Regions from separate parts of the Homo sapiens genome. Here all the other regions are linked to region 1. Evidence: promoter capture Hi-C in 16 types of primary human blood cells and fetal thymus (Javierre and others, 2016). All regions are on one chromosome and are shown on one strand. The core of a region is centred on a gene start or on the middle of the fragment in contact, and the rest is flanking DNA. Distances in the headings are between cores, read along the strand shown. Region 1 holds the start of IVL (involucrin). Region 2 holds the start of LCE1D (late cornified envelope 1D). Region 3 holds the start of SPRR3 (small proline rich protein 3). Region 4 has its middle 6.6 kb from the start of LCE1A. Region 5 has its middle 4.7 kb from the start of LCE6A. Region 6 holds the start of SPRR1A (small proline rich protein 1A).

Evidence for each region. The method cuts DNA at HindIII sites, captures the fragments that hold promoters and counts their contacts. A CHiCAGO score of 5 or more calls a contact.
Region 2: a contact is called between the fragment with the promoter of LCE1D here and the fragment with the promoter of IVL in region 1, in 11 of 17 cell types (neutrophils, endothelial precursors, erythroblasts and 8 more). The highest score is 14.7, in neutrophils.
Region 3: a contact is called between the fragment with the promoter of SPRR3 here and the fragment with the promoter of IVL in region 1, in 1 of 17 cell types (naive CD4 T cells). The highest score is 5.4, in naive CD4 T cells.
Region 4: a contact is called between a fragment that was not itself captured here and the fragment with the promoter of IVL in region 1, in 3 of 17 cell types (naive CD8 T cells, activated CD4 T cells and non-activated CD4 T cells). The highest score is 5.8, in naive CD8 T cells.
Region 5: a fragment that was not itself captured here is called in contact with the fragment with the promoter of IVL in region 1 in 1 of 17 cell types (naive CD8 T cells); the score reaches 5.3 in naive CD8 T cells.
Region 6: the fragment with the promoter of SPRR1A here is called in contact with the fragment with the promoter of IVL in region 1 in 2 of 17 cell types (naive CD8 T cells and naive CD4 T cells); the score reaches 5.6 in naive CD8 T cells.

Annotation. Positions count from the first base shown.
Region 1 is chr1:152,906,048-152,910,526 of GRCh38, reverse strand. It overlaps IVL (involucrin), which reads right to left and starts at 1,981. Exons shown (of 2, transcript NM_005547.4): 1 at 1,938-1,981; 2 at 1-748. The coding sequence starts at 729. RefSeq lists silencers at 741-1,941, 2,314-2,366, promoters at 1,987-2,221, 1,941-2,880, 741-4,479, enhancers at 2,101-2,380, 3,299-3,781, 4,070-4,121, 4,070-4,455, 3,214-4,455 and 1 more and a cis regulatory region at 2,135-2,631. The HindIII fragment of the contact is 6,184 bases long and covers 1-4,454 here.
Region 2 is chr1:152,794,495-152,798,973 of GRCh38, reverse strand. It overlaps LCE1D (late cornified envelope 1D), which reads right to left and starts at 2,253. Exons shown (of 2, transcript NM_178352.3): 1 at 2,203-2,253; 2 at 793-1,201. The coding sequence starts at 1,179. The coding sequence ends at 835. The HindIII fragment of the contact is 8,213 bases long and covers 774-4,479 here.
Region 3 is chr1:152,999,851-153,004,329 of GRCh38, reverse strand. It overlaps SPRR3 (small proline rich protein 3), which reads right to left and starts at 2,581. Exons shown (of 2, transcript NM_001097589.2): 1 at 2,537-2,581; 2 at 474-1,328. The coding sequence starts at 1,309. The coding sequence ends at 800. The HindIII fragment of the contact is 2,627 bases long and covers 1,635-4,261 here.
Region 4 is chr1:152,818,602-152,823,080 of GRCh38, reverse strand. No RefSeq gene overlaps it. Among named protein-coding and RNA genes, the nearest start is that of LCE1A, 6.6 kb to the left of the region's middle. The HindIII fragment of the contact is 1,302 bases long and covers 1,917-3,218 here.
Region 5 is chr1:152,835,877-152,840,355 of GRCh38, reverse strand. No RefSeq gene overlaps it. Among named protein-coding and RNA genes, the nearest start is that of LCE6A, 4.7 kb to the left of the region's middle. The HindIII fragment of the contact is 379 bases long and covers 1,667-2,045 here.
Region 6 is chr1:152,980,852-152,985,330 of GRCh38, reverse strand. It overlaps SPRR1A (small proline rich protein 1A), which reads right to left and starts at 1,250. Exons shown (of 2, transcript NM_005987.4): 1 at 1,206-1,250; 2 at 1-119. The coding sequence starts at 100. The HindIII fragment of the contact is 3,855 bases long and covers 267-4,121 here.

The sequences.
Region 1 (4,479 bases), core at 732-3,231:
CAGCTGCCCCTCCTGCTGCTGTGGGAGCTCCAGCTGCCCCTCCTGCTGCTCTGGGAGCTCCAGCTGCCCCTCCTGCTGCTCTGGGAGCTCCAGCTGCCCCTCCTGCTGCTCTGGGAGCTCCAGCTGCCCCTCCTGCTGCTCTGGGAGCTCCAGCTGCCCCTCCTGCTGCTCTGGGAGCTCCAGCTGCCCCTCCTGCTGCTCCGGGTGCTTCAGCTGTCCCTCCTGCTGCTCTAGGTGCTTCAGGTGCCCCTCCTGCTGCTCTGGGAGCTCCAACAGTTGCTCTTTCTTCATTCCCAGTTGCTCATCTCTCTTGACTAGCTCTTGATCCAGTTGCTGGTCTAAGAGCTTCTTCTCTTCTTCCAGCTGTTTGTTTAGCTGCTGATCCCTTTGTGTTTTCTCCTGCTTAAGCTGCTGCTCTGGGTTTTCTGCTTTCTGATATTCCTCATGCTGTTCCCAGTGCTGTTGCTGCAGCTCCTGCTCCTGTGGCTCCTTCTGCTGTTGCTCACATTCTTGCTCAGGCAGTCCCTTTACAGCAGTCATGTGCTTTTCCTCTTGCTTTGATGGGACCTCCACTGGGAGCTCGACAGGCACCTTCTGGCATGGGGGAGGCAGTGGAGTTGGCTGTTTCATTTGCTCCTGATGGGTATTGACTGGAGGAGGAACAGTCTTGAGGAGCTCCTGACTGAGGGCAGGGGAGAGGGTCACTGGCAGTGTGTGTTGCTGGGACATCTTAGAAGCTACTGTCAACCTGAAAGACAGAAGAGGTCTGATGCACAGGCTGAAGGCAAAGGAAATAGATGAAACCTTGGGAATCTGCAGAAGTATCTGGTTTTTTAGCATCCCCTCTTCCCTTGGGCAGGGTACTGTTCTACCACCTCTGGACTATCATTTCCCAAAAGCAGCAGAGAGAGAAGGGTGGAAATGTGGAGGGGCAGAGAAAGGTCCTCCTAGGAGCCTCCTTGTTCCCAGGTGAGAGCCAACAAGGAGATCTGTCTGCAGGGCTGTTCTGCAAGGGTGGGTCAGGTGCCAGCTCACTGTCTGCTCTTGTCTAGTCCTTGTGTCCACCCTCATCGCTTCACTGACCAAGGAGCAGAGATGCGTTCTGGGATTATGTCACAGTGAGGAGTAAGGCCTTAGGGAATGAAATGTCTCTTGGAGAACACCAAGTCCTAGAAAACCAATAGGCCGTGCCAGAGAGGACCTAAGAGGTCATGGTGTGACCTCCAGACTGGAGCCACAGGACATGCTCTAGGCCTGAATCTCCCATTGGAATGCTGTGTGTTTCTGGGCATGTCACTTAGTCTCCTGGGATTTGGTTTTCCCCCCTGTAAAGCCAGCAGGTTGGCCTATTCAACCCCAGGGCTGCTTTCTCTCCTGACCTTCTGAGGTTTAGCTGCAGTCCTTGTGTCTGGGGTGGGGCTGCGGGAGCTGGAAGGTTGCTGAGAGTTGGAGGTTGTTCTTCCAAGTCTTATACTTCTAAGTTGAGTTTTCCTGTCCCAGCTCTGCCTAGGTTTCTCCAAATAGAAAGGTTTCCCCATTCTGCCATCCCTCTGTGCAGCATAGCCAAAAGGTAGAAGCTCTTCCCTGAACCTCTCCCTCCATAAAGAAGGCAAAATGATGGTCTGTCAAAACCCAAGAGGTTTAGGAAAGAAGTTGAATGCTATTCCCCTCCTCCCTTCCATAATTCTCTCTCACACACAAATCCAAAAATATGGTCACAAGAAAAGATGGGACATAGGATGATTACTCTCTGTTCTGCACTTCTGTGCCAAGGCACTTTTCTCTCAGTACTCTGACTCGAGTCCCCCTAGAATGAAAGTCCAGCTGAATCCAGCCCCAGAGTAATGCCCACCCCCACCCAGGCTGCCCACCCCCACCACATCGTATGCTGTTGGAGGTCCCGAGTCCCAACCCTGGTTCTACCATCCGACACTTACCAGACTCACAGTAAGGCTGAGGCAGAGGCTTTGGTGGAGTGCTGAGCTGAGCAGGAGTCAGGGCACTCTTTATATCATTCTGCAGCCTGGCCTCCCTCCAGGTTGAAGGTGATGGACAGGTTTCACCACTCTAGTTGGTCAACTTCCTCTAACCCCTTCCTGACTCACCACAGGCATCTTAAGCAGCAAACCCTTTAGGGCCCCATTTCCCAGGGACACACAGCTCCTGCCTGGCCAGAGGATTCTGGTAGCTCAACTATTCCTGTGATGCTTTTCTGACCTAGGCACAGGGAGCTGAGTGAGGCATCCTACTGTTTTGTGACCTTAGTCAAACTTCTGCTCTGAATCTCAATTTTTCCACTTTCAAAATGAGTTTGTTCTCATTATTAGGCCAAAAGATTCACTTTCAAGGGCATGAAATGGAAAGTTATGTGTCTTTCGGGGATGTCCAGGCTGGGTTATATGTTTGAAGATAGAGTCACTTCCCATGAAGGGGTGGTATTTCTGGGGTGTTCTCTTGGGCCACAAGCCCTTCCTCTCTCAGAATATATTTTTTAACTCCATCCTATGTGGAAATAAACTCTGTCTTTGGTGGAGGGAGTTTGACTTTAGGCCAAGTAGAGTCAAGTAGAAGGCTTCTAGGAGTCCTCTGCTGCTGCCACTTGCTGCCCAGCCTCTATGCCCGAGGCTGCAGTTAGAGAAGTTCTCAGGAATGCCATGCTCATAAGAACTCCAAAGCACGGCCCACTCTAGGCAAGGAAACAAGATTGAATCTACACAATATAAAAATAAGTATTGCTTTTTATAATGACAAACCAAACTACTTTCTTAAGTACTTTTTTAAATGCATGAAGGTATAAAGATCAGAATCAAATCATCCATTTCCTGTTGTAAATCATACTCTAGAAATAGCTTAAGAAATCTTTCAGAGTGGGGATTTGAGCACATCTCTCCCCCGTGCCAACAGTGCACCAGCACACTTGAAATAACATTCAAACTCACTGCCGTGGTTTAAAAGACCCTGGGTACCTGGCTTCTGCCTTCTTCTGGGGCCCCAATTCATGTCAATCTCTCCCTGAGAGGTATATTCTTACCTCACTGAGGGCCTTCGGTTCCTGAGATGAGCCCAGAGCTCTCCACCTGGGGGCTTGGCACCTGCTCTCCTTCTGCCCACCGGCCCCTCCCCAGGTCTCTGGTTCTTTTATGCCTTTCAGCTTCAGTGTCAATGTTGGGGTCTGTCAGAGATCCTTCTCTGTGTACCATATCTAAAGGATTGGTACTTAATTTCACTTATAACAATCTAGAGTAATTTATTTGCATTTGTTCACTTGCTTATTGTCTATCTTTCCCACTGGAAAATAAGCTAAGAGCAGCGTATACCTGGTATGTTTTCCACTATACCCCTAGAACCTATCAAAACTACTGCATATAATATGTGCTCTACAAGTATTCATTGAAGAACAGTGAATTTTACGACCCGAAAATAATGACTATTAAACATTTCAGTGTTGATCAATGTTTATATGTGTGTGTCTGTATGTGTGTGTAAAAACCAAACTGATTTATTTCTTCCCTTTCTTTTTAATGGTTGGCTAATAACTTATTATATGGACATCATTCATTTACACTCTCTTTTTTACAATCTAATCCAAAAAGAAGGAATTATAAAGACAATACTCAGTGGGGCTAATTTTGAGAAGTGTCCTGATTCCCCATAGTTTTCCTGACAGGCACATTTCTCTTAGCCCCAAGTAAATCTATTTAAAGCACTAATTTTGTCATGTTCCTGGATCATGCCTAAAAAGACAGAGGGAGGACTCACAAGGCACCCTTGGTTTCTGCAGTGCTATCCCCTCCTCATGACCTCTCTGTTCCCTGAGCCCACCCAGGGACCTCACATTCTTTTTCCCATAGAACAGGGACTGTGCCATTTTCTGGGGCAGAGGAAGCACAGCCCACTCTGCCCTGAAGAACTAATCAAGCATCCTTACTTTGGCGCTGATGCCCTTGTGCTCTGCTGCTGACTTCATCTGGGGGGAATCTGCCTCTTCCCAGCCCGTGACAGTCAGTCTGGGGCAGCAGACTCAGATCAAGGAAGTCACACCGGTCTTATGGGTTAGCAGGGGCTCAGTATCTGCCAGATCTGCCTCCCGCCCTCTGACTCACGGCATAATAAGAGCCTTAAGGAGAAGATGGTATGTGTGAGCCTTTGACTGCTGGGCAAAGCTAGGGTGTGGGAAAGAGGGCAGTGGATACAGCTGAGGGAGTGTTTGTGTGTGTGTGTATGCAAGGGAGGGGTTGGGGAAACCTCAACATTCTAGGGCTGAGAAGTCCCTTATTCTGCCCACAGGTTGCCCCATTTGGGAGACAGGCATTCACGTATATGGGAGAGGTTCTTTCACTGCCTATGTGAATGACCTCATAAGCTCCAGGTCCACATGACAAGTCTGGGTAACTGTCCAACCCCCACCCAACATAATAAGGATGAGCTCATATCCCATGACACATGGAGAAGCTTTGGCCCCAACTCTGCCCCAGCCTA
Region 2 (4,479 bases), core at 1,004-3,503, 110 kb after region 1:
AAAGAGTGTATACATTTGGTAAAACTAATTGAATTGTTTATTTTAAAAAGGGGTTTTATTGTGTGAAAGTTATAGATCAATAAAAGTGATTTAAGTTTAAAAACTAAAGATTTATTCCATATAATGTGAGTATATATAAATATGTGTGTATATATATACATGTACACACACATATATTTATATGTCTACTACGTGTACATACAATCTGAAGGAGGAGTCCGGGGAGATTGTTAGTGGAAGGAGTGGGGAACGAGGAACACAAGAGTGAAGAGGTGACAGTGAGAAGGAGGATGAAGTCGGCCTCCTGGCCATGCCTGAGGGATGCGGTTACATAGGTGAAAGGAACCAGAATTTGAAAGAAAAATATTTCTCAATGCTATTTCAGTCCCTTGGTTTAAAAGGAAAACACAGAAAGAAGAAAAAACACAAAACACACAGAAATGCAAGCTTTTTCCTCCTGACCCCTTCCCCATCCTCTGTCCACCAAGGCCTCAGCAGCCACCAGCAGACACAGGGGAGCAGAACAAGGATGACACAAACAGGAAAATCAAGCAGGCTGGTAGCAAATTGGGGAGCAGATTCTGGATTTTATTTCTTCAGTTCAGGCAGCACAGAATACAGTAGCGTGAGCTGGGGAGGAAGTAGGTGTGTGCTTTGGAGTTCCCAGGGCAGCCATGGATCTGCAGAAGAAAGTCTCTAAATGCCATTAAGGAGAAAGATTTTGGGTTTCCTGACACCAGAGCAGAGGGATTCTCCAGGCAAGACTTCAAGCTTTTGCTGGAACCTCTCAGCTATTCAGGCAGAATCAGAAGGAAGAGGAAGTCAAGGTCCACTTCAGCAGCAGCCTCCAGAGTGCTGGCTGCTGCCCCCACCGCAGCAGCTGGAGCCCCCCGAGGGCTGGCTGCAGCAGTCAGAGCTCTGGGGTCTGCGACGGTGGGACCTGTGGCGCCTGTGGTGGCTCAGGCAGCAGCCACCACCCCCAGAGCTGCAGCAGCCCCCAGAGTTGGAGCCACAGCCGCCCCCAGAGCTGGAGCCACAGCAGCCTCCGGAGCTGACACTGCAGCAGGAAGAGACTGGAGGGCACTTAGGGGGACATTTAGGGGCGGGGCACTTGGGAGTGCACTTGGGAGTGCACTTGGGAGGGGGCTGGCACTGCTGCTGGCTCTGCTGGCAGGACATCTCGGTGGTGGGTGTTCAGGAGCTGAGGGAGAGTCAAATAACAAGTCAGACCCAGGCAGAGGCCACCTCTGCCCCTGTGACACTCTTAGCACCTCTCAAGTTTAAAAGCATCATCTTCAGTAGTTTTATTTCCAATAATTTCCTCAAAATCTCACATCATCTTTTTCAAGATATCTTTGGATGTCAGACAACTGTAAACTAAGACTAAACAATATTGCAAAATGCATCTAAGATTCTGATGTGTTGTCAGTGGAGGAAGAAATTATTACAAATATATCTTAAGACTGAAATTGTCTAATTTATGAGTCATTTAAGAGAAAATTATTTTTAAAGGAGAAGAAGCAGTCATTCTCTCTGGTCATAATTTGCAAGACGATTTTACTTTGGAAGGTCAGCATTGTGCAGGATCTTGGAGACTACTAGGTCAGTAAACTCACTTCAATAGAGACAGATAAACTTAGCAGTTTCTGCAGACTAGTACTTGAACCCTGACCCCCTGATCTCAGGTTGGAGCTCAGACTTCCTCACTCACCACCTGCTCAGGCTGATGGGATGACACGGTGGGTCTCAGGCTTGGTGTGTCCTAACCAAGCTGGGAAGTTTGTGAACAAATCTCAGACCCATGAAAATGTGGGGTTCATAAACCCCAAAGAGTCTTTAGTCCCATGTCCACAGCTCCAGTTCTTCCCTTGCAGGCAGAGACAGGGTTGTATCTTCAGAGGTGGGCTTCCCTCCTGTGGGCTGCCAGAGTGGAGCAGGTCTCTGTGCTTCAAAGTTCCCACTCTGGAACACCCACCTCATCCCAGAGCAGTTTGTTTCCTCTAGAGTTCAAAGGCACATGGCACAGCCCGCCAGCTCTTTTCCTCTTTTCCTTCCTGCTCCCAGTTAGTGCCAGACCCCTTTTGGCCCCCGCCCCTTCAGTCTTTTCTAAACTCTCCACCTCTGACAACATGGCCCTAGCCCCGGAGGCCCTGCCCCTCCTTCCCTCCTGCTCTGTTCTGAGCATCCCTGCTCTGTTCTTACCGGAGTCACAGGCAGCACAGGGTTCTTTAGCACCTCAGGAGGTGAGTGGATGGGGTGGTCTGGCCCTGAGCCCTTTTATCCTGGCCTGGGCTCTGCCCCAGCTGTGAGACAGGGCCTGGGCATGAGAGGACCTTCCTTCTGACACCCACGTGGGTCTTGTGATGGTTGGTGACTGACAGCTCCTCACCTGCCTCTCTCCCCAGGCTCAAGGCAGCCACTCCCAGGTAGGAAAGTGCCTACTTGAAACGGGGTTCCAGGATGACTCCTACCATCACCTACCTCATTCACTTGAAGGCTGCTTGCCCTGAGAGCCTCTCAGTTCTCAGTCTTAGAACTTAGGACCTATCTCATTTCTGTCTCTTCCGAAGTACCTGATGCTCCGTGCAGCCTGGGTTGAAGTTGAAGTACTAATCCCTGAGGTTTCCATGCATGTTTATTTCTGTCCCTGTGCACCACCAAACTGTGTGGCTGTGGGTGCAGTGTAGACATCTACACAAGTAAAACCCTGGAAGTATAACCCGGCCCAGGACCAGGCCCTGCGAGATGGGACTGTTGAAACTATTTAGCCTGTACCATTTTTTAAACCATAAAGCTGGAAGATGAAAAAGAATTAGTTACAGAAGAATTAGTTGGTTGTGAAAGTCAATAAAGTAACACAAAAAAGAGAAAATGTGCCTGACAGAGAGACTGAAACATTGTAGGCTCTGAATAAGTGAAACATTCATAACTTGCTGAATACAGAATGAAGATACTGATCTTTGTTTAACAAACGAAGCACAGCTTTTTTCTAATGAGAGTGAGTCTGGCTGTTTGGTGATCTGTTTGCTTTTAAATAGCCCTTTTCTTCTGGTGGGGTCCTTGATGTGTCAGCACTGAGATGTGAACAAGGAAGCAGCTCATTAGAGAAACAAGAAGCAGCAGCTCTGCTCTTTGTATTGGTGTGAGAATTTGGACTTTTCTGGGTTCACACTGGGAGCACCGGATGATGGTCACAGATGAGAAACAGGAAGAAAAGAGACATGGTTGTGAGACATTATAAGTCTACGCTTCCATGTGGGGTCAAATGGCTGGCAGAACCCCGTCCTGGACCATAAGGGGACGGGTGCCTTTTAAGAACAAGAGTCCTTAATATTTAATGTGAATGTGTTTATGCTGCTACTTTGGAAGCCCCTCTCCTCTCTCTCCACTAGAATCACTAGCTTTCTACATGTCCACAGGATTTATATGAATGGAGTGTTCTGAATTTATACATTTTTAGGATATTAATGAAATGGGCTGCTGTTCATTCTAGGACACACTAGTCACTAAGACAGCCATGACTGCAAGGTTATCCACAAATTAAACTATTTCTTCAGAGGAAGACCAAGAAAAGCCAGATTAAACCATATGAGGGACAAGTCCTCTTCTTCCCAGCCCCTGACAGACTCTGGATATGCCCAGAACTTGGGAATGATATCTAGGTCAAAATGGACATGGTGACCCTAACCAAAACGTGGTGGAGATACATGTATATTTATAAACACATATACAGAGCATACATATTGAGAGAGATGTATATGTGTGTGTACCACCTGTCTCAGAGCATCAATTATTACAGCTGCCCAGACTCCTGTGATAACGTAGTATCTCCAAACACTGTAGTGTGTCTTTGATTCTGTTCTTTTATGACATCCAAGAAAACATCTTCCATCCCTGTACATAATTAACACTAAATCATTAGTAAAGTCTTGTTCATGATTGCACACTGTATAAGGGTAAATGTCCAAATTCCTTCAGTGAAATAAGACTCTGTGTTCTCCCTTTAGTTTAAGCCTTTGTCATCTACTCTCAGAAATGTTCTGAAACTGAACTGGATTATATTCTGTACTTTGATTATGCTTCTCCCTGCAGTGCATGCCGTGGCCTCTACCCTTCCAGGACAGTGTGGCTCAATCCCACTTTTTTATTTATCCTTCATGTGGCATATCACTCTAATGAGATAACAGTAAATGCTTTGATGGCCTGCCTTGGGTGTTTCATACTTCTTACCTCCGTTTTTCAACACAGAGCTATGTGCACAATGGATATTTAATGACTTTTAAATGCTCTCATTGGTATTAGCATTGATTTACAGTTTATAAACAGCTATTCCTTATGACTCAGGCCACCCTCATAGGAGACACACTCTGAGACAGGCTCAGTGAGGTGTGTGGGCCACATCACCCTGAGAGGTCTGACACCATCCCTCCTGGGTATGACATTTGTTCTCCTGCTCAGATTGTTCCAAAGGGCTTAGTA
Region 3 (4,479 bases), core at 1,332-3,831, 93 kb before region 1:
CTATTTAAAATGAATGTTTCTCTTTGTGAATGACTCTGTGTGTGTGTGTGCGTGTGTGTGTGTGTGTATGTGTGTGGTGGGGTATCTAGAAGGTAAAACAAATGAAGAAAAATAGACTGTCCAGTCAAAATATGTAGGAGTAAAGTTTTCTTGGAACAAACAGGAGATTTGTTGTCAGGATACTGAGGATCAGAGGTGTCTTGGAACAGGTGGCTTGGAGTCAGGCATGACTCAGTCCAGTGCAAGAGGAGAGCCTGTGGCTGCCCAAAGTGACAACTTCTATTCAACATCACACCAGGCCCATTGCCATTCCAGGAACACCTCAACTGTAACCCCATACACCCATAGAAACAAACAGTACTGGGGTTAAATAGATGACTTCTACATCAACTCCTCTCTGTCTATAGGTCCTGACTCACAATGGGGAAACAAGGAAGGAGGAAGATTCTGCCAATGACACACACAGCCAAGACTGGAATTAAAAGCAATTTAATGAGGGAAGAGCAGGAAACATGCATTTCTTTTCATTCGAATCTTCAGATGAACCCTGAGCAGCCGAAGACCAGAAAAGCCATGAAGACTTTCTGCTTAATTCAGGGGCTTACAGGATTCTTCAGAGTGTGTGTGAACAAAAGCTTTATAGTACGTATTTTTAGGATACAAATAAGAGAGAGACTATGGCTTGGGGTGACAATGTGCTGATTACAAGGTCTACAGACAATTAAGACACAGAAACAGATGGGAAGAGGGTGTCCAGCATCTGGTGGTTGGCTTCTCAAGGGCTTGTCTGTGCACCAAATTACTTCTGCTTGGTCTTCTGCTGAGCTGGGCCTGGAGTGACCGTTGAAGGACATGGCTCTGGTAGCTTTGTGTAGCCTGGCACAGGAACTTTGGTGTATCCTTGCTCAGGAACTTTGATGGCACCTGGCTCAGGAAACTTGATGAAGCCTTGGTCAGGGACCTTGATGCTGCCTGGTTCAGGGACCTTGGTGTAGCCTGGCTCAGGGACCTTGGTACAACCTGGCTCAGGGACCTTGGTACAGCCTGGCTCAGGGACCTTGGTACAACCTGGCTCAGGGACCTTGGTACAGCCTGGCTCAGGGACCTTGGTACAGCCTGGCTCAGGGACCTTGGTACAGCCTGGCTCTGGAATCTTTGTGTTTCCAGGTTGTGGAACCTTTGAGTGGCATGGCTCCTTGGTTGTGGGAACAAATATTTCCTGAGGTGGAGGCTGGCTGGGTTGTTTCACCTGCTGCTGTTGAAGCTGAGGTGGTGGGGTAAAGGTCTGCTTCTGCTGGTAAGAACTCATGCTTCAAAGGATGCTGGACCTAGAGACAAAACAGCTAATTCAGTGCTTTGATTAAGTAGGAATGAAGCCCAGTTTAATGACAAATATCTGTCATTTCATTCTCCTTCAGAACTGAGAGCCTCTCTTTTCTTTCTTTTTCCCTGAATTTGAGATCATGGGATGCTTTGGTGATCCCCACTTATCTTCCAGAGAATAAGGTAAAGTTGATTTCTTCCACATCGTGTAAATGGAGCCTTTCTTTATGCTTCTTTTCTTCCTGGTACATCTAAAAACCTACGTACAACATGAAAACACATACAAATATGCAAATATATACTCTGAAGCTTTCGCTTACACACTCTTTGAAGAATCCTCTAAGCTCCTGAATTAAGCAGAAAGTCTTAGTGGCTTTTCTGGTCTTCAGCTGCTCAGGGATCATCTGAGGAATTGAGTGAAAAGAAATGCATGTTTCTTGCTCTTCCCTGATTAAATCACTTTTAATACCACTCTTGGCTGTGTGTCATTGGCTGAAGATTGATGTGACACCTCAGTTTTTCCATAAGTTGGAAAGATTTTAAGGTCAGCAGTCTAGAATCTACTCACTCATGTCCTCCTTATAGAGTGCGATAGTTCTCCCAGGAGAACTCTTATCTAAACTTCCCCCTAAGGCTCCCACAATCCACCTGGGAGCCTCTGTTCACACTGTGCCTGCTGCACATGCTCTCTGGCAGGCTCTCCACATCATCGCTGCCTCCCCACACATGCCCACCTCTCATGGCTGTCCTTCCTGATGCTCTCACCTTCCTCGTTTTGCCACAGCATGATACTTGCTTTCCCTCTCTGCTAATCACTCCCCATGCTGTATGTTTGCAAATTTTAGTCAAGTATATGTTTTCTAATGGATTATACATTCATGCAATAAAGAAAAACTTATCTTTTGATCATCAAAATTGCCAATGTAGTGCCTTCTATATTAAAAATTTTCAATACATGTTGACAGGAGAGTGCTCTTGAAGTGGGTATATTGTCTTGCTAACTTAGCAAGCCTTTACAGAAATCACTCCCCTTTTCTGATCCTAAGTTCCACACCTGTAATCTGAGTGGAAAGTCAAAATATGTATAAGGTCACCTTAAACAAAAGTCGTTATTGCATTTAAAATAAATATATTCATTGCATAGCAAAGAGATCTCAATCAAAATAAAGAAACTATTGGAGAATATTAAGGTGTTCCTAATGCGGAGACTCACCTGCTGTGCAGAGAAGGTCGAGGTGTTCAGCCTCTGGGATCTGGTGAAGAGTCTCTTGTTAGCTGGTATTTATATAGAAAATGAGCCCTGCCTTAAGAAAATTGGATTTTTTAAAAGACTGCTCTAACTTCATTCCAGCTTTTGTGATAAGTATCTCTGGCTTAACATTTTTTGTCACTTAAGCTCTGACAGTGATGTCACCTGGGCCTGACTCACTGTCCACCCTTTGTGGTGTGGTTGCTGTGGGCAAAGGTCTTCTTGAATGGCAATGGATTAAATTAGGAGGAAGTACCATGCTCCTAGGACTAGAACGAGCCAGGCCTCTTGGCCTGGGCCCTAATCTTTAGCCAGATTAGTCCTATTGGGCTTCCTCATGGTTGAAGTGGACATGGAAATAACAATAGGCATTTCTGGTTCTGCGAGGCCATGGGGATGGTGCAGAATAAGTGAATCATCTGATTTTCAGTCTCTTACTGGATTTGGACCTGGGAGGAGCAATGGAAGGCAAAATGCCTGCTTTGGAAATAAGTTGCTTTCACTGTGAAGGGCGCCTTAAGGTGCCGTGTTGATCAGGGATAGTAGATGTCATTGAGATGGACAGGCAGGATTGACTGGATCTGTGTGACATTGTGGCTCAGCCCTGAAGACCCTGCCTCTTGTGGTATCTTTCTTCTCCAGGAGTGACATAGGAAGAGGAGCGTGCTGATTCCCTAGGTTCATACACCAGCCATTTCCTCTGATCACTACAGGATGAACCTCAAGTCACTAACTCAGAGTTGCCCTCAATACACACTCTCTTACTAGACGCGGCCCTTGGAAAATCCAGACATCCTTACATCTCAGGCATGTGAATAGCTCCTCCTTTCCCAATGTTCCACGACTGTGTTACTCCCTTGAACCTGATGCCCAGCTCCTTCCACCAGGTTCTGAAAGCCCCTTGTTCTACTTCAGCGTCACACAGTGCCTGGTTATCATGGGTGTTAAGTCAATGGACAGTCATTGTTCTCCTGAATAGAGCTGTAGGTTCATGGAAGGGAGAAAGGAAGTGAGAAAGAAACAGAGATAGATAAAGAAGAAAGGAAAGAAAGAAAGAAAGAGAGAGAGAGAGAAGGAAAGAAAGAAAGAAAGGAAGGAAGAAAGGAAGGGGAGGGGAAGGAAAGGAAAAGAAAAGAAAAGAGAAAAGAAAAGAGGAAAGATAGGGAGGGAGGGAGGAAGGCAGGAAGCCACAAGGCAGTTTCTTGGGCATGATTCACTGTCCTGTGCCAGGCCTCCTGGTGTGAGCTGAGAAGAGGTGTGAGCTGATAATTCATGAAGGAGAAGAGGCTTACCCTCCCTTCCACACCCATGTCCTTCCCTCTCTGCTAGCATTTGTTTGACCGGCCACTTCCCTCTGGGATGGGCCAGGGCCACTGCCATGCCTAAACTCTGGGCTCTGTCATCACATTAGCTCTTTTTCAGTGTTGGGTCCAGGTTTCTCTCCTCAGCAAATCCACCTCTCAGGAGCCACAGACCCTGGGGGCTTCGGCTAGACCCTGCTGCTCCACCTGGGATTTTCCTCCCCAGAGGAAGGAAGCTCCTCTATGAATCCTGGTCTCCCTCATTTTCTTCCTCGATTCTGCACCTTGGTTCTAGAGGAAATTCCTTTCTGATTTCCTGTGTCCCTTCCCTGGGCGGGCTCTCTCCTGCCCTTCTCTAACTCTTGCCTCATTCACCCCAACAAAAGCTTCTCTGCCATCAGCTTATTGAAATTCTCGTTTTACCCCAACCCTGTTATTCCTGTTTAGTCAAACACACTCAGCGCCTGAACGTTAAGCCTCTTTCAGAGAAGCTTTGTTTTCTCATGAGCAGTGTTGGGTGTGCTGGTAAGTCTGGCCTCAGTTTTAGAGAGGATACATTGAGTGGCTTCTGAAGGCGAGTCCCACTTCCCCAGGTACCTTAGTCTT
Region 4 (4,479 bases), core at 1,318-3,817, 88 kb after region 1:
AATAGAATAACCTTATGGACTTTTGATGGAAAAGATTTCCTAAATAATATACATGTGTTCACATCAGAGACAAACACATTACAAACAAACAAAAACCCTTGAGTTTGGTTATATTAAATTTTCTTTAACCAGAAAACATCACAAAAGATGAAAATACAGATTATGAAAAGATATTTGCAACACATATAATTGACAACAAATTAGTATCTAAATAAATAACCCTACAAATCAGTGAGAAGAAAGCAATGACCCAAAGGAAAAATGAGAAAAACACATGAAAATTGATTTCCAGAAGTGAAAACCTGAATAACCAATAACCAATATGTTTTTGAAAAAGCTTTTCAACCTTGCTAGGAATCAGAGAAAAGCAAGAAAAAACCATGATGGTATATAATTTCACATCTATCACCTTGGTAAGAGTGAAAAATTCTCACTATTTATTCTTCTCATTGATGTTGAATAACAGAAATTTTCATGTACTCTGATGGGAATGTACATTAGTACAACTTTTGAAGAGTAATTTGGCAATATTTAGTCAGGATGAAGGCAGATATACTGAATAACATGCTGATTCTTCTCATAAGTGTATGCCTTGGATGCAAAGGTTCCAAAGTATGTGTAAGAATGTTAAAAAGTAGCACTTTTTATAAAGTACAAAGTGAAAACAAGGTAAGTACCCAATTTCAGATGAATGCATAAGTAAAGTATGAATATTCTTACACTGGAATGCTATACAATAGTGAGAATAAATGAAAATGAAATTGAGTCATCTGTATCAACATAGATAAATGTCTCAAAGTCATGGAGTAGATCACTTTTAGAAAATTAAAAATACAAATTATAACTAATATAGAAATAAGTTATAAATAAAATATAGCTAAGTACAAATAAAGTATAGTTAAGTACAGAGGAATTGTTACATTTTTAACTTATAAATAAATTATAAGTTAAGGATAGATAAGCACAGGAAAGTATATGCATTGCACAGGAAGGAAAAACACAAAATACAGAATAATGAATATCTCTAGGTAGAAGGGATATATAAGGGGATGGTTTCAATCATATTTATGATTATTTATTTCTCAATATGAGTGGAAAATACATGCATGCAGTGTTTACCAGGAAATCCTTTTAAGTTTGTATCTGTGTAAAATATTTTATTTAAGAAATTTATACATATGTAAAATTTAACACATACTTATATAGTAAGGTATTACTCTATTATATTTCATATATATTAAAATATTTCAAAAAATTATTTTACTTAATTTTGTTTTCCTCTTCTCTAGCAAAATATTTAATTTAATATGCATGTATTTGTGCTTATTTTTCTTTATAATTTCTTTAATTGTTTTTATATTGAGAATGTTTTTCTCAATCCTGGGAGAAGATAAACATTTAGCTACAAGTACTTCTTTCTTTATAATTCGATTTCCTCAAAATATTTAATCCCATGGATTTTGTCTTGGCATCTAATACTAAATGAGGGTTTACGTTTTTTTTTCAGTTATCAAAATTCCCTAACTCCAGGTATTGAATAGCCATCTTTTCCCCATTGATAACCATCACCTGCATCATCATATTTTAATTCTTTGTGTATATATACATATATATAGAGAGAGATTTAATAGTATATATATGTATACATACATATGTGTATACATAGATACGTATATGTGTATATATACATACATATATGTGTGTGTGTATATATGTGTATATATATATATATATATATATACTATTACATTCTTTTTTTTTTTTTTAAATTTGCACCAGTCTCAAGGTTTGGGGTTTAATTATGTGAAAGTTACAGATAAGTATTTTATCAGAATGGGACTTGTGGTGGATAAGAAAAATCCTCTAGATTTCCGGCAAACAAAAGGAAGAAAGAGAATTTCCTAGGACTAGAAGCTTAGGATCCTGCCCTCTTTGTCCTTTCCCTGGGAGGAGCCTGCAGGTGAGTCCCTGATATGGGGGATATACAGAATGAGGACCCGACTCTTCCCTCAGGAAACATGGAGGAAATGAAACCAGTTTTGTCATCTAAGCAAAGATGAGTTTCTAGTTCCTCTGCAAGCATGGGTCAAATGATGCATGAGTGCTTTCTATGACCAGATGTTGATCACATTGTCAAGACCAACTGTTCTTAGCCATTTATCCACTGTCTAAGAGAAGATTCTGGAACCAAGGCTGAACTTCAAGAAATTCACCCTGGAGAGGCATCACTCACATCACAGATAGAGGGGAGACACTAAAATGCCCAAGAGTGGAGGAGTCAGAAATTGGATTCTGCTTCCTGGTTGCTCCAGTATCAGAAGGATATTGCGCCTACATGTCAGACTGAGCCTTTTCTTTGTTCTCCATTCAGAAAATACATTTAGAAAGCTGGAGAAGGACAGACATTAGGTGGGGAATGAGTAGAAGGACCAGGCTCCCTTTCTCTGGTATGGTGGGCCAGCCCACTGGAGCAGGGATATGGGCAAATATGCCATTCAGTCAAATTTGGGGCCGGGGAGAGTGGCTTGTGCCTGTAATCCCAGCACTTTGGCAGACCGAGGCAGGCAGACCTCTTGAGGCCAGGAGTTCGAGACCACCCTGGACAACAGGCAAAATCCTGTCTCTAAAAAAAAAAAAAAAATACAAAAATCAGCCTGGCATGGTGGTGTGCATCTGTAGTCCCAGTTACTCAGTAGGCTGAGGTGAGAGGATCACTTGAGCCTAGGAGGTTGAGGCTGCAGCGAGCCATGATTGCACCACTGCACTCCAGCCTGCACAACAAAGTGAGACTCTGTCTCAAAAAAAAAAAAAAAAAATCAATCAACCAACCAGTCAAATTTGGCGTTGATATTGTTTTTCTGACTGGATATTTCATTACTGAACTGAAACCAAGTTTGTAATTTTTTTGTTTTAGAAATGGGGTCTTGCTTTGTTGCCGCACCTGGTCTCAAACTCCTAGGTTCAAGTGATCCTCTCTCTCGGGCCTCCCGAAGTGCTGAGATTATAGGCAGGAGCCACTGCACTGGGCCCACGTTTGTGATTTCAAGTAACAAATCATTTTGCATTACTTTGAAAGAGCTGTAAAGTCAGTTGGCCTTTCAACTTGTCATTTAGGAAGGAAAACCATCCCACTGAGTAAAATTTTAAGGACAATTTTACTTTTAAAATTTTTAAATTTTTAAAAAGCTATAATTTTATTACATCCTCCAAGCTAAGCTTGCTCAATGTGAGGGTTGTAGACAGATTTTTTAACATCCACCAGCTTAAGAAAACACACAATCGGATAAGATTTCATAGAAGGATGACATTTGAGGTGAACCTTAAAAGAGGGACAGAATTACACAATGTCCAGATGGTGGGGAGAGATTTGGAGGAACTTCAGATAGAGGAAATAGCAAGTAATGCTGCTAATAGTAATAGTAAGTAATGATTACAGTAGTTAGTAGTGATACTAAGGGTAGCAGTAGTAGTAGTGGCAACACTTATAAAATATCAAGAGAAGCTACTCTTTATTGAAGACTTATAGTATTCTAGATACAGAGCTATGAATAGTAAATTCTACTTACAGCTTCTCAGAAAAAAAAGGATGAATATATACAAGTGTAAGTTATGAGTTGCTCAGTGCGGCAAGAACATGGGGTGTCATGGGAAGTATGAATGGTAAACCTTAGAAAAGAAGTTGGAAACAATTCCTGCTGAGTCTCAAATGTAATACTTAAGAAGCACATGCATTTTTCTATAGAAAGCCTCTGTTTTGAGGAAGTAGAGTGACAATTTCAGACATGTGGTATAGGGAATGTGTTCTGGAAAAAAGTGCAGAGAATTTAATGGAGATGGAAGAGGAAGAAAGAGACATTTAATGGAAGGTTAATACAAGTGCAATTTTTACACAAAGATATGCCTCGAACTAAACTGATTTCAGAAGTAGTTAGTGGGAAAACTGTATTTTCAAAATATATTTCTGTTTTTTGCTTTCTATTTTATTAATCTATTTTTCTTTTCTTTTTTCTTCCATATGCATGCATCCATGTGTGCATGCGTGCGTGTGCACCTGTACTTGTGTGGAAGTGTGTGTATTTGCATGTGATGTGTGTGTATGTGCATACATGTGTGAGGGAGGAAGGATGTTGGGTGGAGCTAGGTGAGGAGGAGAAGGTGGCGCTCACAGAGGGAGAGGAGCATGGAGAGACCAGTCAGGGCCTTGAAGGGGACCAGAGGCAAAGAAGCTGTGTTTACAAAAGACATTTCAGACTTGGTCACAAGCAATGCTGCTTCAGGCCAATTGACATAGGACAAACAGCGTTGGAAGTCCCTTCCCACTCCTGCCCTCATTGACCCCAATTCAAGCCAGTGTGTCCCACTGGCCCCTGAAGTTCCAAGGCCACCACCTGCAGAGGACAGGGTGAGGAGAACAATAGCTACTCAAGGAGAATAGGGGAAGGGGTATGTGCAGAGAGCTCTTTAAATGAGCAAAAAATG
Region 5 (4,479 bases), core at 607-3,106, 70 kb after region 1:
GCAAGAGATATCTCTAGGTCCCCAGCCTCAAATGAAGTTGCTTGGCTTCCCATGACTGGGTTTCTCTTTGGTCAATTTCTTTCTGATATCTCAAATCATTTAACTATTCCTGAAGTAACTCCTCAAATATATTTTTAAAATCTCTTTTATTTTGCTTTATGTTTTTAATGAATAATTGCCCTGACTGTTAAGTGTTCATTCAGAACACTCTGATGTCTTCCGGATAAATCTAAATTCCTTTAGCCAGCATTCAAGTCCCTGTGTATACTCGAACCTATCCCATCGCTTTATGCTTAACTTCTGGAACTTCCTTTCATTATGTCTCCTCCTCTGCTGAATGGATGGATTTATTGTATGGTGAACTGGCTTTTATCCTGTCTGATGTCCGTCTGTCTCTACCTCTCTTTCTTCCTCCCTTTTCCACTCTATCTCTTTGTCTTCCTCTTATTTCCTCAGCCTGCCTGCCTTCCTTCTTCCTCTCTTTTTTTCTTTCTTCCTTCCTTCTTTTTTCTTTCTTTCTTTCTTTCCTTTCCTTTCTTTCTTTCTTCCTTTCTTTTTTCTTTTCTTTCTTTTTCTTTTTCTTTTTGTCTTTCTTTGTGTCTTACTTCTTGTCTTTCTTGGTTCCTCTTCTGAGACTACTTCCGAGGGCCAGTTCAAATCCCGTGTTCTCTGTAATGAATTTCTAGACAATGCCTGGCTGAGAAAATCTTTCAGAGCATTTATTACTTGTTATACATATAATTTATTATCATAAACAATTGTACTTGTATGTGATATTGTTAATGCCTTGAACATGGGGCTATTATCTGTATATCTCAAGCCCCATTTCAGTGTACACAATGGTTCATTACAGTTACTAGTTATTAGGTTTGTTAATTATTAAGTTTTTAAAAATCCCCATCACAGATGTTTGCAAAGAACTTTAGTTTACAGAATGCTTTTCAAATATTATGTCCTGAGTCAATTAATTCTGATGAAATACAGACTCAGGCCATGATGAAATCAGACACTTACAGTGAGTTTGGGATTGTCCACATCACACTGTGGGCACCTCAACTATATTTCCTGAACACTATTATATTTTTACTTAGACTGTGCCAAAGAGTTTAGTTTGAGGGGAGTGTTCATGTCCTTTGTAGGGACATGGATGAAATTGGAAATCATCATTCTCAGTAAACTATCGCAAGAACAAAAAAACCAAACACCGCATATTCTCACTCATAGGTGAGAATTGAACAATGAGATCACATGGACACAGGAAGGGGAATATCACACTCTGGGGACTGTGGTGGGGGGGGAGGGGGGAGGGATAGCATTGGGAGATATACCTAATGCTAGATGACGAGTTAGTGGGTGCAGCGCACCAGCATGGCACATGTATACATACGTAACTAACCTGCACAATGTGCACATGTACCCTAAAACTTAAAGTATAATAAAAAAATAAATAAATAAATAAATAAATAAAAGAAATCTATATCATGTTTTCTACAGGTACTTCTTATTTTAGAACCCAGCCCTGCTCATGTTTTCTTAGGAAGAAAGGCCAAGAGATCTGGTCCTACCTCTTTCCTCCAGGTAGGATGGTATCCAAACCACCAATTATCCTGACTTGTACTCAAGACTATAATATCATCAGAACTGGCTTGTTAATCTAGGCCAAGCTTGTTCAACTCCTGTGGGCCCCATGTGACCCAGGACGGCTTTGAATGTGACCCATCACAAATTTGTAAACCTTCTTAAAACATGAAATTTTTTGTGATTTTTTTTAGACCATCATCTATTGTTAGTATTATTGTGTGGCCCAAGTATTAATAGTATTTTATGTGTGGCCCAAGACAATTTTTCTTCTTCCAATGTGGACCAAGGAAGCCAAAAGATTGGATGCCCCTGATGTAGACCATTGGATATAAGTGGTTTAGTTTCCATTTCAATAGAATAAATTGTCATTGGCAAAAGAAGAGCTTAGTGTAGTGTTTTCTTCATCAGACGAGTAAGTCTCTTTTTTCCCTTTCTCATCATCCAAAGAAAGAGAAAAGAAAGCTTCTAAGATTTAGAAGAAAATAATTAAAACTGTGTCCACAGCAGGAAGGGGAACATCACACACCGGGCCTGTTGTGGGGTGGGGGAAGTGGGGAGGGAAAGCATTAGGAGATATACCTAATGTAAATGATGAGTTAATGGGTGCAGCACACCGACATGGCACATATATACATATGTAACAAACCTGCACATTGTGCACATGTACCCTAGAACTTAAAGTATAAAAAAAAAAAGAATTAAAAATAAATAAATAAATACAAAAAAACTGTGTCCACAGCTTAGGTTGTTCACAACTCTATGTTAAAAAAACTTTTAAAGACTAAATTATAAAAGAAATCTATAAATACATAAAATCTCAATTCAGAGTATTTTCTAAAAAGCCTTATGGAAAACCTAAGACAAATTAAATAAAAATCCCTTTAGGGAGGACTTTCAGAACAGTGGCATGAAGAACTCCTTGGACCCTTCTCCTAGCAAAATAATTAAGACTTGAAAAAAAAGTTTTGCAATCATCCTTTGCAAATTGTCCTAAGGGTATAGAGCAAATTAAAAAACTTTTATTCAAGAAAATCTACTAAATCATAGTAACAATAACAATAGTCTGTGGCACTTGAATCACAACTTGCACCCTCCCTAATCTCTTCCAGTTGGGCATGATGCTAGCTCCACTCTTGGAAGATGCAATCAATGAGATAAGGTTCCATCCCCCTTTAGCTCCAAATCATGGCCTCCAGTGTCTTCCTGTGAGGGGGAGGCTGCCAACATTTCTTACACCTCTTCCCTTAGTTCTGTGGTATAGAGGCTAAATTCCAGGAGGGGGACTCTAAGAGATTGGGGGCTTTCTTACTCCCCATCTCCCACTCATGGGGCAGGCAGTCACTCTACCTCAGGTGCAGCAGGGCAAGAATATTGGGACACCAAAGTCCTTTGTCCCAGCTCACTTGTAGGGTGGAGGATCGATGGTGGGAGAAACAATCCAAGAAGAATAGTGGTTGCCACCCCATTAAAGTGTTCTGCTCATTAATCAGCAGTGAGCTCCAGGAGACATTTGCCCTCAGCTCAAAAGCAGTGGCTAAGAGAATTTGTCCAGGGAAGAGGATGTCCAGAAAACCCAGAGAACTCCAAAGTTCTCACCAAAGGAACTGACTATATTTGGAAAAGAGTGTGGGGACGTTCAAGCTTAAAGGCACTTTGGTAAATGGGAGAGATTTTGTTGGCAAGCATTTAAGAAGAGGCTGTTGAGTCATAAGAGCAATATGCTAAACCATAGGGCAGCTTGTTTACCAGAGAAAACCAAGGAAAGTGAGGGCTAAGTAGAGTCTTCCCGAGTTTAGAACAAATTTCAAACCTGGCCTCAAACACTACCCTTGAAAAGGGGCCTAGACTTAATTGGCTTCAATTATGAAGCAATTTCTGTTTGTGTTCTAGGACATTATCAGAAATAATAAACCAATCTGTCAGCAACTGTTGTGAAGCCTAACAGTTGTGTGTGATGCCAACAGAGATAGCTTAACAGAGAAATCATCGAAGAGACAACCAAAGAGAGTTCTGCTAAACCTACTGTCATTCAGGGTAACTGTGAGCAAGCCCAGGGTTGAGTCCCCTGAGGAGTGACATCAGAGACATCCCATTTCAGGAGAAATAGACTTTACTAATATAGTCTATCTAAATAGTCAAACAAATAAACAAGCAACAGCACACCTTAAAGGGAGAGGAGTATCATTACACAGAGTTGCTACATTCTAATCTCTAAAATAACCACTTTTAAAGAAAAAACACATGATACATGCAAATAAACTAGAAAGTGTGACCCTTACACAGGAAAAGAAGCAATAAACAGAAACTTCCTGGGAGACGGCCCAAAGGCTGGACTTAATAAACAAAAATTCCAAAGTAGCCATTGTTGCCACTTTTAAAGAATTATAGGAAACTATTTTTTTTTTTATTATTATACTTTAAGTTTTAGGATACATGTGCACAATGTGCAGGTTAGTTACATATGTATACATGTGCCATGTTGATGTGCTGCACCCATTAACTCGTCATTTAGCATTATGTATATCTCCTAATGCTATCCCTCCCCTCTACCCCGACCCCACAACAGGCCCCGGTGTGTGATGTTCCCCTTCCTGTGTCCATGTGCTCTCATGGTTCAATTCCCACCTATGAGTGAGAGCATGTGGTGTTTGGTTTTTTGTCCTTGCAATAGTTTGCTGAGAATGATGGTTTCCAGCTTCATCCATGTCCCTACAAAGGACATGAACTCATCATTTTTTATGGCTGCATAGTATTCCATGGTGTATATGTGCCACATTTTCTTAATCCAGTCTATCATTGTTGGACATTTGAGTTGGTTCCAAGTCTTTGCTATTGTGAATAGTGCCGCAATAAACATACGTGTGCATGTGTCTTTATAGCAACATGATTTATAATCCT
Region 6 (4,479 bases), core at 1-2,500, 76 kb before region 1:
TGCATGGTTCCTGGGGTGGAGGCTGGCAAGGTTGTTTCACCTGCTGCTGCTGAGGCTGAGGGGGTGGGGTGCAAGGCTGCTTCTGCTGCTGAGAATTCATGCTTCAAATGTGTTTTTTTCTAGAGACAGAAAGCTGACACAGTGATTCAATTAAAGAAAGATGGATACAAATTCAATGCCAAACAGATTTTATTTCAGGACCCTTTAGAAGAGAAAGCCTTTCATCTCCCTTAACTCCCCCATTACATTTAAAAATGAAATAAGCTTGGATAATTTTCAGGCCCTTTGAAGAGGAGGAGCTAAAAGGCAATTTCTTCTGCTCCATTTTATTGGAGTTCTCTTCTTGGCTCCCTTCCTACCCAAGGCAACTTATATCTGTTCTGGAAAAATGCCCTACTAAAGCTGGCTTCTGAGGGACATGAGGTCCGCATATTAGGTCTTTTGGAAAATGGCATCAGACCACTTTCCTCTCCTAGTACCATGTAGAAAGCCTGTGACTTATAGGATGGCTTTATATTCATCTAAGCCTCTATGGTTTTGCTTCTGGTCTGTGCTTACACAGTCCCTTCCAAATGCTTTTCTTCCCATCTCTGCTTGTCCAAATACCCCTCCATCATAGCTCACATCACTTGACACCCCTAGGAGGGTCTCCTTGAGCAAGGTCTCCCAAAAGTGCACAGCCCTTCTCTGCCCATCTCCGTCATGCCAATTACTATCTACTTTGCATTTCATTTATTTATATATATGTATTACCTTCCTGCTAGGTTTTATGTTTGTTAAGTAAGTACGTTAGGCATTGATTTGTCCAAAGTGCCTAGCATACTGCCTTAAATGGAATAAATGCTCAGTAGAGATCCATCTAATAAATTAAAATTTCTATAAATATCTTGTCAGGGGGAAATTGCAGTGTTACTGAGAGTGCTCTGGGCCTGAGTTCTAGTTCTGCTATGAACTTCCCATGGGCATTTGAACAATCTTCTCCAGGACTCCCAGTTCAATGACTATCTACTGAGGTGGGAGCCCTAACCATCTCTAAGGTCCTTTCAAATCCAGACTGTAATTTAACTTAAAATAAAGATATTCCACTATTCTCTATCTCCCATTGAAACCCTGGATTAACCTGCTTACACATATTTGCCTTTAGCTAATTTCTAATAATGAAAAAGTACACTAGAATTGCCAGTTTGTTGCAATCAGAGACTTACCTGGTATACGGAGCAGAATGGGCTGTGTGGTCCCTTGGGTTTGGTGTGAAGGCAATGGCCAGCTGGCTTTTATAAGATGAATGAGCCCTGCCTCAAGGAAATAGAAGCTCTCGGGCACTCTGTTTTCATTCCTCACCTGTCACACATGACTCACACTACCATCCTCATCACCGGTTGGCTCAGCTTTTTTGATGAACACCACCTGATATTTTTTGGCACTGGCTGGCTGAAAATGATGTCACTGGCCTAATTTTCACTGCCACCCTCATCCTCAGACCCAGGTGCAGGGCTTGCCTTGAGGGAGGGGTGAGCAGCAGGCTTCATGGAGGGTTTCATGAGTTAACCCTGGGGGGACATCTGAGTCCTGTTGAGGCCTTGCCACCTGCTGTCCTTGTCATTGAGATGGTTGTTCCCCGTGTTCTGTGGGACAGGGCACTCTTGCACACATGAATAGGTGGGAAAGGGAGGGGGAGCAGAGGAGCTGAGGTGGGCCCTCCTTGTCTGCCTTGGTGAAGGTGGAAGCTAGAAATAATGAAATGGACTGATTATAGACCCCTTGTCTCAGAGTCCAAGACCCTTCCATCCATTTCCCCCATCTTTTTCCCAATTCCATTAAACTACACACATTCAGAATAATTTACTTATGACTCTCCCACTCTCACCTTCCTCCCCCTGACTGGTTGCTAATCTGGGAAAACCTGCTTTCCTTCACCAACCACACCTTTACCCTTCTCCTACTTCAGGGACTTTCAGGGGCTAATCCTTCTTCTGGGATCACTTTTTCCCTTCACTCCACCCAGACATCTGGCCCTGGCCTTTTCCTCCTTTCTGATCAGGCTAGACTGCCCCCCACCTGAAAACCCAAAAGCCTTTTCTACCTGCCTCCCTGCAGCCCATCCATGGGGTCCTCAATGCTGAATCCTTCTCCACTTTTGCCCACTGCCAGCTCCAGCCCCAATACCTAGAGATCCTGCTGGCTGCAAGGTTTTCCTCCTCCTTCTGGGTCTGTATCTCCTGGGGGCTTTCCGAGGGTCAGAGCTGTTCCTGCTTAAAGCAACGGTGTCCCCACCACAGTGTTTATTTCCTCATTTATTCAACAAATCTCAGTGGGGAGCCTAACATATGCCCATCATGCCTGTCATTCTAGGAGCTCTCTGATGAGGAAGCCCACTTTTCCTCTACAGATCATGAACTCCCCAGGGTAAGAGACAGAGCACAGTTGAGAGCCACTGAGATTATGGATCTCAGAGAGCCTTTAGTTCACACTCCTCAAGGGATGATTGGGGAATCTGAGGCCACCAGAGGTGAAATAACTCACCAAGGTCAAAAAAACAAACCCTAGGAAGAAAAGAATTTTACACAGAAATCCTGTGTTCTCCTTTGTTTTAATTCCTTGTGACTCCCTAATGTCTATGGAGGAAATTAAGCCCAGGCAGAAAATTGATTAGAGGTGGAAAGGGGAGCCCTTCCTGACTGAGAGCTGGGTCACTTGTAGTTCTGGAAAGTTTTAGGAGTGACAGCGTGAGGACACAGAAAGAGCCTTGCCTTGTGGGTAAGCCTTAATCGGTGCTAAGATAAATCCCTTTAAGTAGAAATAAAGATGCTTAATATTTGAGTGGCTCTAAACAGTGGGTGTTTCTAGCTCTGCTAAAGTAAGAAGGGCATGAATTAGAATAGGTGGAAATAAGGTTCAGTTTATCATTACTCAGGGCACCAGGGTCGGAGAAAGGAAGGGAAAAGCCAAAACTAAAATGTCTGCTTCTATCCTGAGTTGCTTTCGCTCTAGGGGAGCTCTCAGAGTGACATCGTGACACAGCTGAGGTGAAGGCACTGGGGGAGGCAGTAGGTGATAAGCCCCTGAGCACCTGCACATGCTTGCCTTCACTCCACGATGGTCAGATTCTGCCCTGCCAAGGAACTTCTCTTTCCTGGGGACACAAGAACAGGGGTTCCCTCAATCTTTCCATAGGCAATTGCCATAAAACTGAGGTCTCTGATTCAGAGCTGCACTCAAAACACAAACTGTTACTAGGTGTGGCCTTTGGAAAATCCAAATCATCCTTAAAACTCAGGTGTTCAGATGGTTCCTCCTCCTCATCTAACCCCTCCTTTACCCAAACACACACCTAAATGTTTGTGGAGCACCTGCTGGCTCCACAGCCAGTGAACCTGAGGCCAAGGTCAGCCTCCCACTGTGTCCATGCAGCCATTGGTCCCTATCCATCTCCATCCTCACACAGTGCCTGGCGTGCAGAAGCTGCTTGGTGACTGGCATTTATAGACCGACTGCCTGGCTGGCTGGCTGGCTGGCTGACTGAATGAATGAATGACTGAATGGCGTTATTTGTAAAGACAGGCTGAGAGTCTACTTTGAAACCTGCCTAGAAGCTCCGGTACACAGTGTACCTGCTGCCCTCCCCACCCACCTGCCTCACTGTCAAACAGTTTAATGCCCCACCTTGCTCCGGGCTGGTGCCAGCCCCACCAGGACACCTGAGCTCCAAGACTCTTGCCTCACTTAGCTCTCCTCTAGGTTTGTGCCCAGGTCCCCTTCTTCACCAAGTCCCCACCCAGGAGCCCTGACAGCAGGGGCTGCTGGAACCTGTTGCTATGTCTGGTAGGATTCTCAGCCCTGCAGGAACCTGCTGCCTAGTTGTCTGTCCTCTGGTGTCACCCAGCTTGTCTCAGGCCCTGGATGATCTGAAGCCACCTCTGAAGCTGGTGTGTTCTCATGCCCTCCCTGGACCTTAGCCCTGGATGCAAAGGAATTTCCTTCTCCCTGGTTATCAGCTCCTTACTGGACAGTCCTGCGTGCCTCAACATGTGCTTCCTTCACCCCACCCAAGCCTGCTTGGGCTCCAGACTCTGGAACTTTCTCTTGGTCTCTGACATTCTTCTCTCTGTGTATTTGAAGCTTCCACAGTGACTTGTGTTAATCGTTAATCTTCCCTCAGAAGAAACTTTGTTTCTCTGCCACTGGGGTTGGGTTAGCTATTGAATCAGGCCCCACAAACTCCCACATAAAGACAAGGGGAAACTGGGTGGCTTCCGACAGTAAGAACAGCACCCCAGATTTCTCAGCCTTGCAGAAAAGCCCCACCTAGGACACAGGAGCTGCTGCTCTTCTGACATCGAAAACTGGCTCTCATTTGTCCCTGGAACTTCCATTGACTCTGAGCAGTGCCTCAGGTTCATCAGTCATTTCCAGAGCAAGGAAGATTGATGGCCCTAAGTCTAATCAGTGATCAGGCTTTTCCCAGCATAGATTACTCTC